Regions from separate parts of the Homo sapiens genome. Here region 2 is linked to region 1. Evidence: promoter capture Hi-C in human tissues and cell types (Jung and others, 2019). All regions are on one chromosome and are shown on one strand. Each heading gives the region's core, a stretch centred on a gene start or on the middle of the fragment in contact. The rest is flanking DNA. Distances are from core to core; before and after follow the strand shown.

What was found. Contacts are between HindIII fragments. The study calls those that stand out against the background at their distance.
Region 2: a contact is called between a fragment that was not itself captured here and the fragment with the promoter of ABCA8 in region 1, in 2 of the 25 tissues and cell types used here (dorsolateral prefrontal cortex and hippocampus).

Annotation. Positions count from the first base shown.
Region 1 is chr17:68,950,628-68,956,808 of GRCh38, reverse strand. ABCA8 (ATP binding cassette subfamily A member 8) reads left to right here and starts at 1,417. Exons shown (of 40, transcript NM_001288985.2): 1 at 1,417-1,590. The HindIII fragment of the contact is 19,891 bases long and covers 1-6,181 here.
Region 2 is chr17:68,902,144-68,909,195 of GRCh38, reverse strand. It overlaps ABCA8 (ATP binding cassette subfamily A member 8), which reads left to right. Exons shown (of 40, transcript NM_001288985.2): 18 at 1,317-1,456; 19 at 3,033-3,152; 20 at 5,697-5,895; 21 at 6,317-6,483. Among named protein-coding and RNA genes, the nearest start is that of ABCA8, 50 kb to the left of the region's middle. The HindIII fragment of the contact is 5,133 bases long and covers 1-3,973 here.

The sequences.
Region 1 (6,181 bases), core at 168-2,667:
AACCAGAGAGAAAAGAAGCAAATAACAAAATGGCAGATCTGATTTTAAAAATCAATAGCTACATAAAATGAAAATAATTTAAACACACCCATTAAAAGATGTGCATTGTCAAATTGGATTTTAAAAACCAAACTCATGACTCTATTATATGCCATCTACAAGAAACTCACTTGAAATACAATTTAGAGCTGGGTATAGTGGCATGTATCTGTAGTTTCAGCTACTCAGGAGTCTGAGATGGGAAGATCACTTGAACCCAGGAGTTCAAGTCCAGCCTTGGCAACATAGCAAGACCATCATCTTAAAAAAATAATAACAAACACAGACGCACACACACACATACACACACACGCATACACATATAATATGAATGTGATGTTTGGCAGGGCCAACAGAATTGAGATCATAACTGCCACTCTGAAAGCATATAGTGTGTGTGTGTGTGTGTGTGTGTGTAGATAAAAATAAACGGATGAAAACAAAATACCACGAAAACAATAATCACAGGAAAGTAAGAATGGCTATATTATTAATATGAAACAAAGTAGACTTTAGAACACAAAAGTTACTAGAGATAAAGATTAACATTACATAATGATAAAAGGGTCAATTCACCAAGAAGACATAACAATTCCAAATGTTGCAAAATACATCAGGCAAAACATGATAGTTTTAAAGGGAGAAATTTGAAAGTCCCTAAGTTTTGTTAAAATCTTCAACATTCCTCTCTTAGTAATCAACAGAACTAGGAGACAGAAAATTAGGAAAAATATAGAAAAAACTGAACAATATCATCAACCAACTAAATGTAATAGATATTATATAATATTCCACTCAACACCAAAAAACTATACAACTTTTCAAGTGCCTATGGAATATCTGCCAAGATAGATCATATCCTGGGTCATCAAATAAGCCTTAACAAATTTGACATACAAAATATTTTTTCTGAGTATAATTGAACTTCTGATTTAAAATTAAATCAATAACCAAAAGATAAGAAAATCTTCAGACACTTGGAAATTAAGCACATTTCTGATTAATCCGTGGGTCAAATAAATTGGAAAATAGTCTGAACTGAGTGAAAATGAAGCTGGGAAGCAGAGGAATGAAAATTTTGATTATCTAGGTAAAGCTGTCAATTAAGCAGACTAGAGCTCTGGGTAGAGAGAAGAGCTTTTCTCTGATTAAGCTGTTTACTTTCTCATGGCTTAAAGACAGCACTTTAAATTTTGGTATTAGCCACAATAATCTTGGACGTAAAAGAGAAATTGCTCCCTATAATATGATATAGCCAGGCAACCCAGTATAAATGCCACTGCTCTGCAGGAACTGGCCGAATATCAATGAGAAGACAAACAGTCCAAGCATGATGACGTGAATGTGATGTTTGGCAGGGCCAACAGAATTGAGATCATAACCTCCACTCTGAAAGCAGTCTTCACAGAAACTTTTCACAGAAGTCAAATAGTTAAAGCAAATTCTAGATACATGGTAGAGACCAGGAGAAAATATGAATAACTTTCTTCTAAACAAGGAGCTCAGTGGATAAACCATACCTCTAGATTCCTTGCTTCCATTTTCCCAGAAGTAAGTTCACTGTATTTTTTCTGTTTTGTTTTGTATTTTGCTTTTGTGTGTGAGTTTGTTTCAGAGGTTTTGTCTTTTCTTATTCCTATCACAAAATTATAAATAAACCTTTATAAACTGAATGACAATCATCTATGCAGAAATTATTTTGAAAAATATTGGGCTACTTTAAAGATTTTATATCTGGTAATTAATATTAGATAAATAAAAACATTGAGTTAGAATGTTTTTTAAAAAATTATGCAAACATTATGTTGTTTTAAACATAACTGAGTGTAGAAATAAGTTTAAATTGGCTAAAAATTTTTTGTGAAGAGCTTAGAGTTTTAAGAATTGGGTTGGAAGACTGAGTTGTTTTTGAAGTTAAAGTTATCTACTTTGATTGCACAATAATGTAGGGCATTTTGGATAAGTGTTCTTCTGACTTTAAGACTGTTTACCAAGAGCACTTACAGAAATATTTTTATTGTTCCTATCGCTCACTCTTAGTCTATAAGAATTTTAGAAATGTAAGATTCTTTCTAGGATCTTTTACTCGTTGGATACAGTGAGTTGAATCAGAATGTGAAATATGTAGCTTCTCTTTACCACAATGTTATTTAAAATGTACATTGGTAAAAAGAATTTTCATACTCCTATAGTGAATACATGTTGTTCTGAATTTTACAACAGTATAAGAGGATAAAAATGAGTCATTACAATTTGAGACTATTTGCCATATGTATAATAAAGTATTCATGTTTTTGCTAGCCTTTACATAAACTGCAGAACATACAAAAATTGGAAAGAAACAAAGTTGGCAATAATACTTTACGATGGAAGATATAAGGGATTGGAGTCAGACTGGAGTTTGCATGCTACCTAAGACTGTAGCTGATTCCATAGTGAGGAGATCATCCTCTTGGCCAATGTCTATTAACTTCGCCAGTGAATTATGCATTTCTGTAGAGAAGCTGTGATATATTTGGGCTTGTGCATGAGGTGGAGTGTAGGGAAACATCACACTCTGGGGACTGTTGTGGGGTGGGGGGAGGGGGGAGGGATAGCATTGGGAGATATACCTAATGCTAGATGACGAGTTAGTGGGTGCAGCGCACCAGCGTGGCACATGTATACATATGTAACTAACCTGCACAATGTGTACATGTACCCTAAAACTTAAAGTATAATAATAAAACGAAAAAAAAAAAAGAAATTCCTCCTGTACAGAGCTTGCATTGGCGGCAGCTGCTTTAAGAACCCAGAAACTTTTGCCCTCTCTGTAGGCTAGCTCACTGTGAAAATATCCCATGGATTTTACCTAAAATTGCTTACAGAGAGCGGCATTATACTTCTATAGATAATTGCATCAGTAACCAGAGAGGAGAAGTACAGCAGCAGACTACCCTCTACCCCCGGTAGGAGTAGTAGCACATCACAGTTTCAGCAAGTTCAATCTTGAGCAAAGAACATGATGTGATTGTTTGTGGGTATGTCTGTATACGGAGTGTGATTTTAGGTAAGGAGAGCCTTGCACAGCTCTCTTAAAAGTATCCATGCTGAATTTTCTGCACCTTAACCTAGGCTGCTTTACTCTTGGAACTGTCTTTCCCTCTTCTCCTTCCATGGGCTCTCTGACCTCTTTACTTGGTCTGCTTCCACTTAGGCCTGCCCCTCAGCCTCATTGCATGGCCATGTGTAGGTTCTTCTTCTAGCAGTGTTCTCTGAGACTGCTGTGGCTAATGTGCCTTCTGTTGCAACTGACCCCTGGACACCTTACTTGAGATTTGGCTCTAGAAAGTAGCACCACCCTGTGTGTGATCCTGTCCCATAAATGAGATGATGGCTTCAGTTGGGGCTCATTCACTTCTCATCACTATGGAGGAGTTCATAGAAACTGCATGGCCAACATGGCATGCATACGGAGGGAGATCACTTGCTTCAGAAGTCAGGACTTATGAGCCAAATGATGGTCTTCAGGGTGGAGCTGCTGGCTTTGTGCTCAAAAGTCTGGACCCATTCTTCCAAGTCATGTCCTTCACATGCTTCCCAGAAAACTGATGATGGTACCTTCCAGAATCTCTTTACTTTCTATAATTCAGCTTAGGTAGCCTGTTTTCTCCCACGGCAAAGACCATTTGAAAGCACTCTAGTCCTACAGTTTTCAGGAGTGGCTTAGCAAATCCTATTTGTGTAGCAGTGGTTGATTGAAGTTCTGGAAAGATGTGGTGCTCTTATTATGCACTGAATTATCTTCTTCTGGGAAGTATTTTATGTGCCTGCTGCAATAAACTGTATGTATAAATTCCCCTACAAAATCACCCCCCATATACAGACATACCCAGAAACAATCACATCATGTTCTTTGCTCAAGATTGAACATGCTGAAACTGTGATGTGCTACTACTCCTACCAGGGGGTAGAGGGTAGTCTACTGCTGTACTTCTCCTCTCTGGTTACTGATGCAGTTATCTATAGAAGTATAATGCCACTCTCTGTAAGCAATTTTAGGTAAAATCCATGGGATATTTTCACAGTGAGCTAGCCTACAGAGAGGACAAAAGTTTCTGGGTTCTTAAAGCAGCTGCCGCCAATGCAAGCCCTGTACAGGAGGAATTTCTACACTCCACCTCCTGCACAAGCCCAAGTATATCAAAGCCTCGCTACAGAAATGCATAATTCATTGGCAAAGTTAATAGACATTTGATGGTAAAAAATGAATCTACTTTGTATGTTCTTTAAATTGAAAATTGAATCACATTTCTACACAACAACAGGCGGATCACAAGGTCAGGAGATCGAGACCATCCGAGCTAACAAGGTGAAACCCCATCTCTACTAAAAACACAAAAAATTAGCTGGGCGTGGTGGCGGGCGCTTGTAATCCCAGCTACTCGGGAGGCTGAGGCAGGAGAATGGCATGAACCCAGGAGGCGGAGCTTGCAGTGAGCCGAGATCGCACCACTGCACTCCAGCCTGGGCGACAGAGCGAGACTCCATCTCAAAAATAAATAAATAAATAAATAACCAGGATAATTAGATTGGAATTCAGCAGAGTGTTAAAATAACTAGAAGGCATTTGTTTGTAAAAAGAGAACAGAGATAATAAATACTTTTGAGTTTTCATAAAATAAGTTATAGTTTCTTAGAAAAGTATTTAAGAGTAACCATAAAAGACATATAACCACCTTTTACATCTTTGGGACAGGAGAAGAAGTGAAGAAGGAGAGGAAAACATTTTCAATTCAATAGAAGGTAAAGATGTAGACAAAACTAGAAGCAAAAGAAAAGTAGGTTTAACGTGAGAATAAGATAGAATGAGAGATCATCCAAAACAAAAATTCATACATGGTTTAATGCATCTCTTAAAATATAGTTATCTATCAGTTTAGATTTCTAAACATAATGCATTGATAGTTTTTTATATAGTAACCAAATATTTAAAAATGCAGCAAAAGGTTAACAACAAAGAGATAGAAACAGATACATTAGGCAAATATTAACCTACAGAAACCTAGTGTCTCCATATTATCAGAAATAGAAGCAACCTATTACTGAAACATAAAAAAGCAATGTTTTATGCACCTAGCTACCTATGCTTTAAATGCACTTGCTGAAAACTAACAGAGATATAATAAGAAATTGCCAAACCTATTATTAGAGTGGAAATTTTTAATTGAACTCTATTATGAAATGATTGATCTAGGAAATATAACATTAGAAAGGATGCTGAAGATTTGAAGAACACAATGAAAAAGATTGAATAGATACGTACAAAACACTTCACCTAAATGGTGAGTTACAGGTATGTTAGGTGCACGTGGAACACTTTCAAATATTAAAATATGCTGCACCAGCGAGGAAGTCTTAAGGAATTTTAAAGAAGCAGTATCTTACTGAGAAGTCATTTCTTTGGTCACAATATAATTGTTAGAAATCAAAAATAAAAAGTCACTAAAAACAAAGAAACTTCAATATAGTGAATGCTAAAGAGGTAATCCTAAGTAACATATGTATGGTCTATTGCCACATTTATGTTACATAGCAAAAAGGAAATAAACCCAAATAACAACACACAGCAATAAGCATTTGTAGTGTGGTGTCTGCAGTGGTTCCTAAGAAACTGCTGATCTTGGATAGGCTTGATGGTATCTCTGGGAGGGGACTGGCTAGCACTCTCAACTGGATGACTGAGAGGACTCAGCTTGGTTTCATTCCGCAGTAGGCTAGGCCAGGTCTGCTCTCACAGCAATGGAAGAAACAAAAAAACAAGCAGATACACTCAAGGTCTCGGGAGGCTGAGGTTCAGAACTGGTGCGACATCACACCTCCCTTCTTCTCTTGGCCCAAGTACTAGCCTGCCTTGATGACAAAAACTCCAAAATTACCAGACAAAGGGTGGACACAGACAGATGGATAATTGGGTCACTGATGCAATCAATCACTCAACTCCAGAATCCATTTTCTCAGCCACTCTGCTAACATTAGTTCGTTATTTCAGCCAAGAAGCCAAAGGAAAAAGTAGCAAAACCAACCCCCAAAAAGAGTAGAAATAAAACCGTGAAAAGTAAGAGGATAAATTAATAAATTAGAAAACATAGTAAGCAATGAA
Region 2 (7,052 bases), core at 158-2,657, 48 kb after region 1:
TCCTCAAGGAATGACTTTCTGCATGACTCATTCATTCCGCCCCAGCACTCAGCACAAGTTCCTACAAGTGGCCAAGGAATAATTCTTAAATTGTTTTCATTTCAGGAGTCAGCATCATGGAAAACAGCTACGACATTTTTTGCTTCACTCTTCCAGTGGATTTCACTACTTCTAAAAAAATAGCATATATTCTTTTAAGTTCATACATGACTTATGTGTCAGTGGAATAATTTTTGACTTATGCATTTGGTCAAATAAAATTGCTACCATTTTTAAGGGCTTGTCAAGTGCAAACTTCACTATTATTCCATTGTTCGAATAACCCTAGAGGCTGGGAATCATTATTCCAGTTTTCTAATAAAGTAACTGTTTAGATAAGTTAAATAACACGTTCCAGATGCTAAAACAATATTTCAAAGCCAAGTCACTACTGATATTTTGCCCACTGTATAATTTATAACCTCAATTAATAGAATATTGTGTTTGTCTGTTTCTCTATAATGGAGAAATAGCTGTGGTATTTTTCAATGGATAGACTGATTTTCTCAATGATACTTTGTTCTTATTCAAAGTTCTGGGCTTAGCATTACAAGAAAAGCAAACCACATTCATCCATTATTAGTTTCTATCTATAATCCAGTTTCCTTCATAGCACTTACTACTATTGATAATTATTTTACTCATCTGGTTGTCTACATGTTTTCTTCCTGACGCCCGCACTAGACAATGAACTCCATAAGAGCAGAATAATGCTGCTTTAGTCACCATTGTATCCTCAACACTAAGTATGATGTTTGTCACATACTAAGAACTTAGTAAATTTGCATTGGATGACTACATTGAGTAACTGAAACTGTTTGGCATCTATACTTCTCACAAGTCTCTTGTTCCTTTGAAGCGATACAACAATTCTATTTAGTCAGCTTAAAACTGAACCTTCAACTGCAACGTTATCCATTTTGCATAGTCCTGACCTTTGCTGTACTGCAACCCTGGTATTTTCCACTCTGTGACCACCCTCTCTTCAGGAGCTTCAATCAATATGAAACTTCTCTGGGCACTACTCCTGAGTAACCTCACCAGTAACTCTCATTAGCTCATTCTTTTCTTTTGTCCATCACATTTATATGATTTGGCTGGGTTTTTGTCCTCTTATTTCTTGGGTTTTTGTCCTCTTATTTTGTGTTTGTCTGACCTATTTCTGGCATTAGATTTTAATTGATTTTCTTTGTCCTATAGAGACTAGTTAATTATTTTCTTGCTATTGGAGACTATGTCGAGTAACATATGTCTTTTTTTTTTTTTCTGAATGCCAGCTTGCAGTTAAATGAAATATGTGTTGAGGAAAACATAACATCACTTGTTAAACAGCACATCCCTGATGCCAAATTATCAGCCAAAAGCGAAGGAAAACTTATTTATACATTACCCTTAGAAAGAACAAATAAATTTCCAGGTAATGTGCATGAACACTGTGAAATAAAATATGTGAATAATAGTCATCATCATCATAATTATTATCATTACAACTAACATTTATCAATGTCTTACAGTATGCTCAGGTACTGAAACATAATCAAAAGAATAGTACAATAACTGAATTATTTTCTGTATAGTGGGAAATAGAATTACATTCTAATAGTTGTATTGTAATGCCTGGGCATTTTAGAGGGCTTCTTTTAGTCCTTCTTCCCTAGTAGTGTGTAACATAATATTCTAGTATTCATAAATGTACACAAACCCAAATGGTTGAAAACCTCTGGCTTATGCACTACATTAAACAGCCCTGTGATGTGGCTATCTGTCTCGGTGAGACTTTTGCAATAACTTTGGGTTTTTCAGGCTAACGCATAAAAGTTTACTAACTATGTTTGTTGTTCAGGGAACTTGTTCCTTAACAATGGGGCACTATAAGGGCCCACATTAGTGGTTGAAACAATTAACCTTGCTGTATATGTGGTTAACAAAGACATATACATTCATTCAAATACACATTTTATGGTGACAACACAAGCATTCCTTAGAATCATCAGGAAAGTGTTACGCAAATTCTGATTAGTACTTTTTAACAGTAATTATAATTTAAAGAAAATTTGTAGACGTTTTAGGTGGAATGAAGAATGATGCATAATACTCATTATTAGCTTAAATCTTACTTCTTTTCTACCTTTCTGTATGAGGTATTCTAGTCAAGACAAAAAGCTTTTAACCTATCCTTTTGCCCAAGCAGGAGCTCCAGATGGAAGCCTCAGGACTTCTGTAATCACCCTAGTATTAGAATTAGGTTTTTATTTAAGCTTGATTTAACCACTGTAATTCAAATCCATGCAGGCAGGGGCACTGTTCACTGCTTCATGAACAATGACAGATGCGTAAGTATATTTTGGTGAACGAACTAAAGAATGAATAGATATAAAATTGCTAGAGCGAATAATCACTGTCACAATTCCAGGAAAATTCCCTGATTCAGTTCCACATTCTCTGCCTGTTAGGTCTTGTGAATTTTTTCTTCCATTGTTAGAAACAGAAAATTTTTTAATGGTTTATATTCTATGTCTTCTCTTTAACAAATATTTTCTAAACTACAGAAGATTCTACACCATCCAATTAATTCTCAAAAAATTAATTCCTTTCCTTTTGTCAGTTAGAACATAAATGGCTCCCATTTATATCTGTTCTCTAGAAAAGACTTTTCAATTAATTAGGCTTAGAGTTGAAAAACCCAGAGTCTCACAATTAATTAAATTTTAAAAGGAAGTCAGAAAAAACTAAGATTAAACTTTAATAGAAATGCAAATGAATATAAATTAATGTTTGACAAAGTAATATTTGGGTTGTAACACATGATGTAAAATAGAAAATAATATATAGAATTTGCAGAATAAGATGATCTATTATGAAATGTTAATTTTCAAATGTTTTTGACATATCACAAGTATAGTTTCATAGATTTGTGCTTATTAGTTTGAAAAATTGTCTTCAGTTCACTTGTGATTCTTGTTTTAATTCACTGCTGTATATGTATTCTTTAGAACTTTACAAGGATCTTGATAGCTATCCTGACCTAGGAATTGAGAATTATGGTGTTTCCATGACAACTTTGAATGAAGTATTCCTGAAGCTAGAAGGAAAATCTACAATTAATGAATCGGGTAAATAAAATGCATGAAAATTATTATGTAAAAGCACATATTTCAAGAACACACTGTTCCAAAGATGTGATTACAAAATGTGGGGTTCATGATTAAGGCTCTTCTTAGACAAGCTTGTGTAAAAATGAAACGCATCCCTGTCAACATTGCTTTGTAGTTAAAAATAATCCATTTTTCTACATCCAAGGCTCACTGCACTCATATTAGCTCTAGGCTTCTAAGGGCAATTTCAGATAAAACATTTATTCTAAATCATAAATTAATATAAAACATGAACCCACAGATCTAAAACACTTAAGAACCCCAAACAATACTTTAAAATGAAACTATTAAATTCCTGTAGGCCAGCAATAAAGAAGAGAGTCTTAATTAGACATATTGTACTGTTCCACAGATATCAGATTCTCTGGTGTCAGGTTTTTCTTTTTTTTTTCTTTATGTTAGAAATTGGACACTATCTATCCACCTATTTTCAAGGTCACAAATAACTTATTCTCTTGTGTTCAGACTGTTTTGAAGCCGAACATAATAAACTCTCTATTTCTGATACTGCACTTTTTCATTCTAACATTTTCATTTGTTCTTTTTTAGAGTTTCAGTTCTTTACTATTTCTCATCTGCTCTCAATATTGTCCATATTTTCCAGTAGATCTTGTAACATATTTATCATAGTTATTTTTAAACTTGTGTATTTTAATTCTAACATGTGGACCGTGTGACTGATGACCGTTATCAGTAACTGACTCTGATTTTTTTTCCTCTTCCCTATGGGTTATATTTCCCCGCTTCTTCATATGTCTTGAAATTTGTATTTTATCATGGATGTTACTTTAACAAAACAGGAACACTGAGGTAAACAATGGCCAGAAAATGGCATGACTCTTCCTCTGTCAGACTACTGATGTGGATGGCAGAACTGATCTAATTTGTATTTGGCAAGTGCCTGGGCTTTTGCACAGGTTTTATTAGATTCAGTCCACTCCCAGCTTCGAATGTTTTAAAGGTAGAATCAGGTCTTTCCCTTAGACGTGACTTTGAATTATAGCACTGGAAAAATTCTATATATTTCTCTATAGCCCTGCTATCAAATATCTCAATAATGATTAATCTCACTGATTTTCAGCCTGTCATCACTTTTTGTTTATTTATTTGTTAGTATACATCTCTCCACTCCTCATTCAGTGACTGGACCCTAGTGGACTCATGTATTACACAAAAGGAAAGACCCATGAACCCTGATGATGTCTTGCTCAAGACACTATGCAGCTTCTTGTGTTTCTCTCTCCGTTTTTCTGAGTATCTGCCCCCAGCTACTGCTGTACTGTTCCTATGCACTTAGGAAAGGCTCCACGAAAAAAAGTTCGTAGATGCTGTAAACTCGTTTTGTGACTTAGGTACCCCATGATTCTAGTCAGTTATATCAGCCCACATATAATCACAGAATTTTTAAATCTGGGCTGCTTTCTTTTCACCTACCTATGGTGGTTTTCTCCTTTTTCCTTTTTCTGCCATGTCCCTAAAGATGAAAGCTTCCACAGGAATCTTCTCCCCCTAGAAATGTTTCCTTCCTTTATACATGTTAGTTTTTTAGCTTTCTTTGTGCTCTCGCCCATCTGATGGATTAAAAATAACTAATATTTATTCCCTTGGTAAGACAGGTTGACAGTCTCTTGCAACTAACGAGAAGCAGAATATCCCTGAATTATTATTATTATTATTATTATTATTATTATTATTATTATTATTATTATTTCTTTTTTTTGAGATGGAGTCTCGCTCTGTCACCCAGGCTGGAGTGCAGTGGCACGATCTCGGCTCACTGCAAGCTCTGCCTCCCGGGTTCACGCCATTCTCCTGCCTCAGCTTCCCGAGTAGCTGCGACTACAGGTGCCCACCACCACGCCCGGCTAATTTTTTTAATGGACTTTTGACCACTATCTTAAGATCCTTATATCTTCATTCACAGTGTGTTTTGTGTCCTGTCACTGTACTTATACATTTACGGGTGTGTGCTTTTTGAGGTTTGATATTAGGCTTATTTTAGCATTATACAATGGACAGCATCCTGGGTATCCAGAGATTATAGAGAACACACAAATGAATGCAGTCTCAGAAACTATTCAAAACTGAATAGTTTTGAAATCTCTGCAGTAACAATTTATAGCTAACTCCCAGTTTGTAGCTTGCCATTTACAGTTTACTCCCTGTTCAGAGCATGTCAATTTGTAGCTTCATTGAACATGTAAGATATTTGTTTCCTTTACTGACTTTCCATGTCATTTCTAACCACTGTGATGACCTTGCCTATTTATCTTGACCTCTGTAATGTATTGTCTGTATCCAAATTACCTAAGGTCTCCTTTCTATCCCTTTTGTTCAAGAAATAAATATTTCTTCTATTTCTGTATTTTAAGGCAGTAACCAGCAAAACCACGTTATACCTATAGTAACGCGGAAGAGTCTAATCATGAGATGCTTAGCAGAGCCAATCTCTATAGTAAGCTCAATAAAGTACATATGAGTTGCTTATTTTATGTTTTGCAGACATTGCTATTTTGGGAGAAGTACAAGCGGAAAAAGCTGACGACACTGAAAGGCTTGTTGAGATGGAACAAGTCCTCTCTTCACTTAACAAGATGAGAAAGACAATAGGTGGTGTGGCTCTCTGGCGACAGCAAATCTGCGCAATTGCAAGGGTTCGCTTGTTAAAGTTAAAGCATGAAAGAAAAGCTCTTTTAGCACTGTAAGTATCAGAGTTGCCATAGGTTTTCTTTTTAAGTCAATGCGTTAAAAAGCAAATCTAAGGTATAAAGGCAAGCAAAAAAACACAAAGATATGATGAATTAGGCAGCAGAAAGGGAAAGCATCACAGTGGAAGAAGCACAGGAGAGAGGCAGAATCTTGACATCCAAAGGACAAATATTGCATGAAATTTTATGGGATATCCAATGGCCAAAAAGCAACAGGAGAAATGAACAAAGGACAAATCTACGGTTTAACATCTTGAATTTGGAGTTAGTAAAAGGACAAAATACTCAAGAAATGTGACAGTTAATTGTGTTTAATTTTTATAATTTCTTTATCCCATTACATTATAAACTGCTCAGAGAGTATTAGATCAGGAAATGACATTGCATTCATTTTGGCAATTTTCTTTTGTGTAGGCTATTAATTCTAATGGCTGGATTTTGCCCTCTTCTTGTGGAGTATACCATGGTGAAAATATATCAAAACAGTTACACCTGGGAACTTTCTCCTCATTTGTATTTCCTTGCTCCTGGACAACAACCACATGACCCTCTCACTCAACTACTGATCATCAATAAAACAGGTAAAATGGTGGATACTTGATTTCCAAATACATTTACTGTTCAGAGCAGTACTTAGAAAACATAACCATGAGAAAGAAAATAGCTTTTCACTTATTCAGCATGTGTTAAAAAACAATTTATGAAACTTAAAGATAATAAATACAGGCCCCCAAAGAAGCAGGAATAGGTAAAGTATTTTCTAAAGGAGAAACATCTGGTGGCATCTTGCTAAATGAAAGCGTTTGTACCAAAATAGCATTTTTAACAGGTTCATTAAGATATACTTCACAGGCCATACAATTTATCCATTTAAAATGCACAATTCCATGGTTTTCAGTGTATCCACAGAACTGTGAAACCATCAATACAATCCCTTTTAGAATATTTTCATCACCCCATAAAGAAACCCCATACCGAATAGCAATTACTCCCATGTCGTCCCTCCCCCAACTCCTCAGCAATCACAAATTTACATTCTGTTTCTATTGATCTGTCTACTCTGAACATGTAATATCACTGGACTCATACAACATGTGGTATTTGGTGACTGACTTCTTTCGCTTAGCATGTTTTCAAAGTTGATCTATGT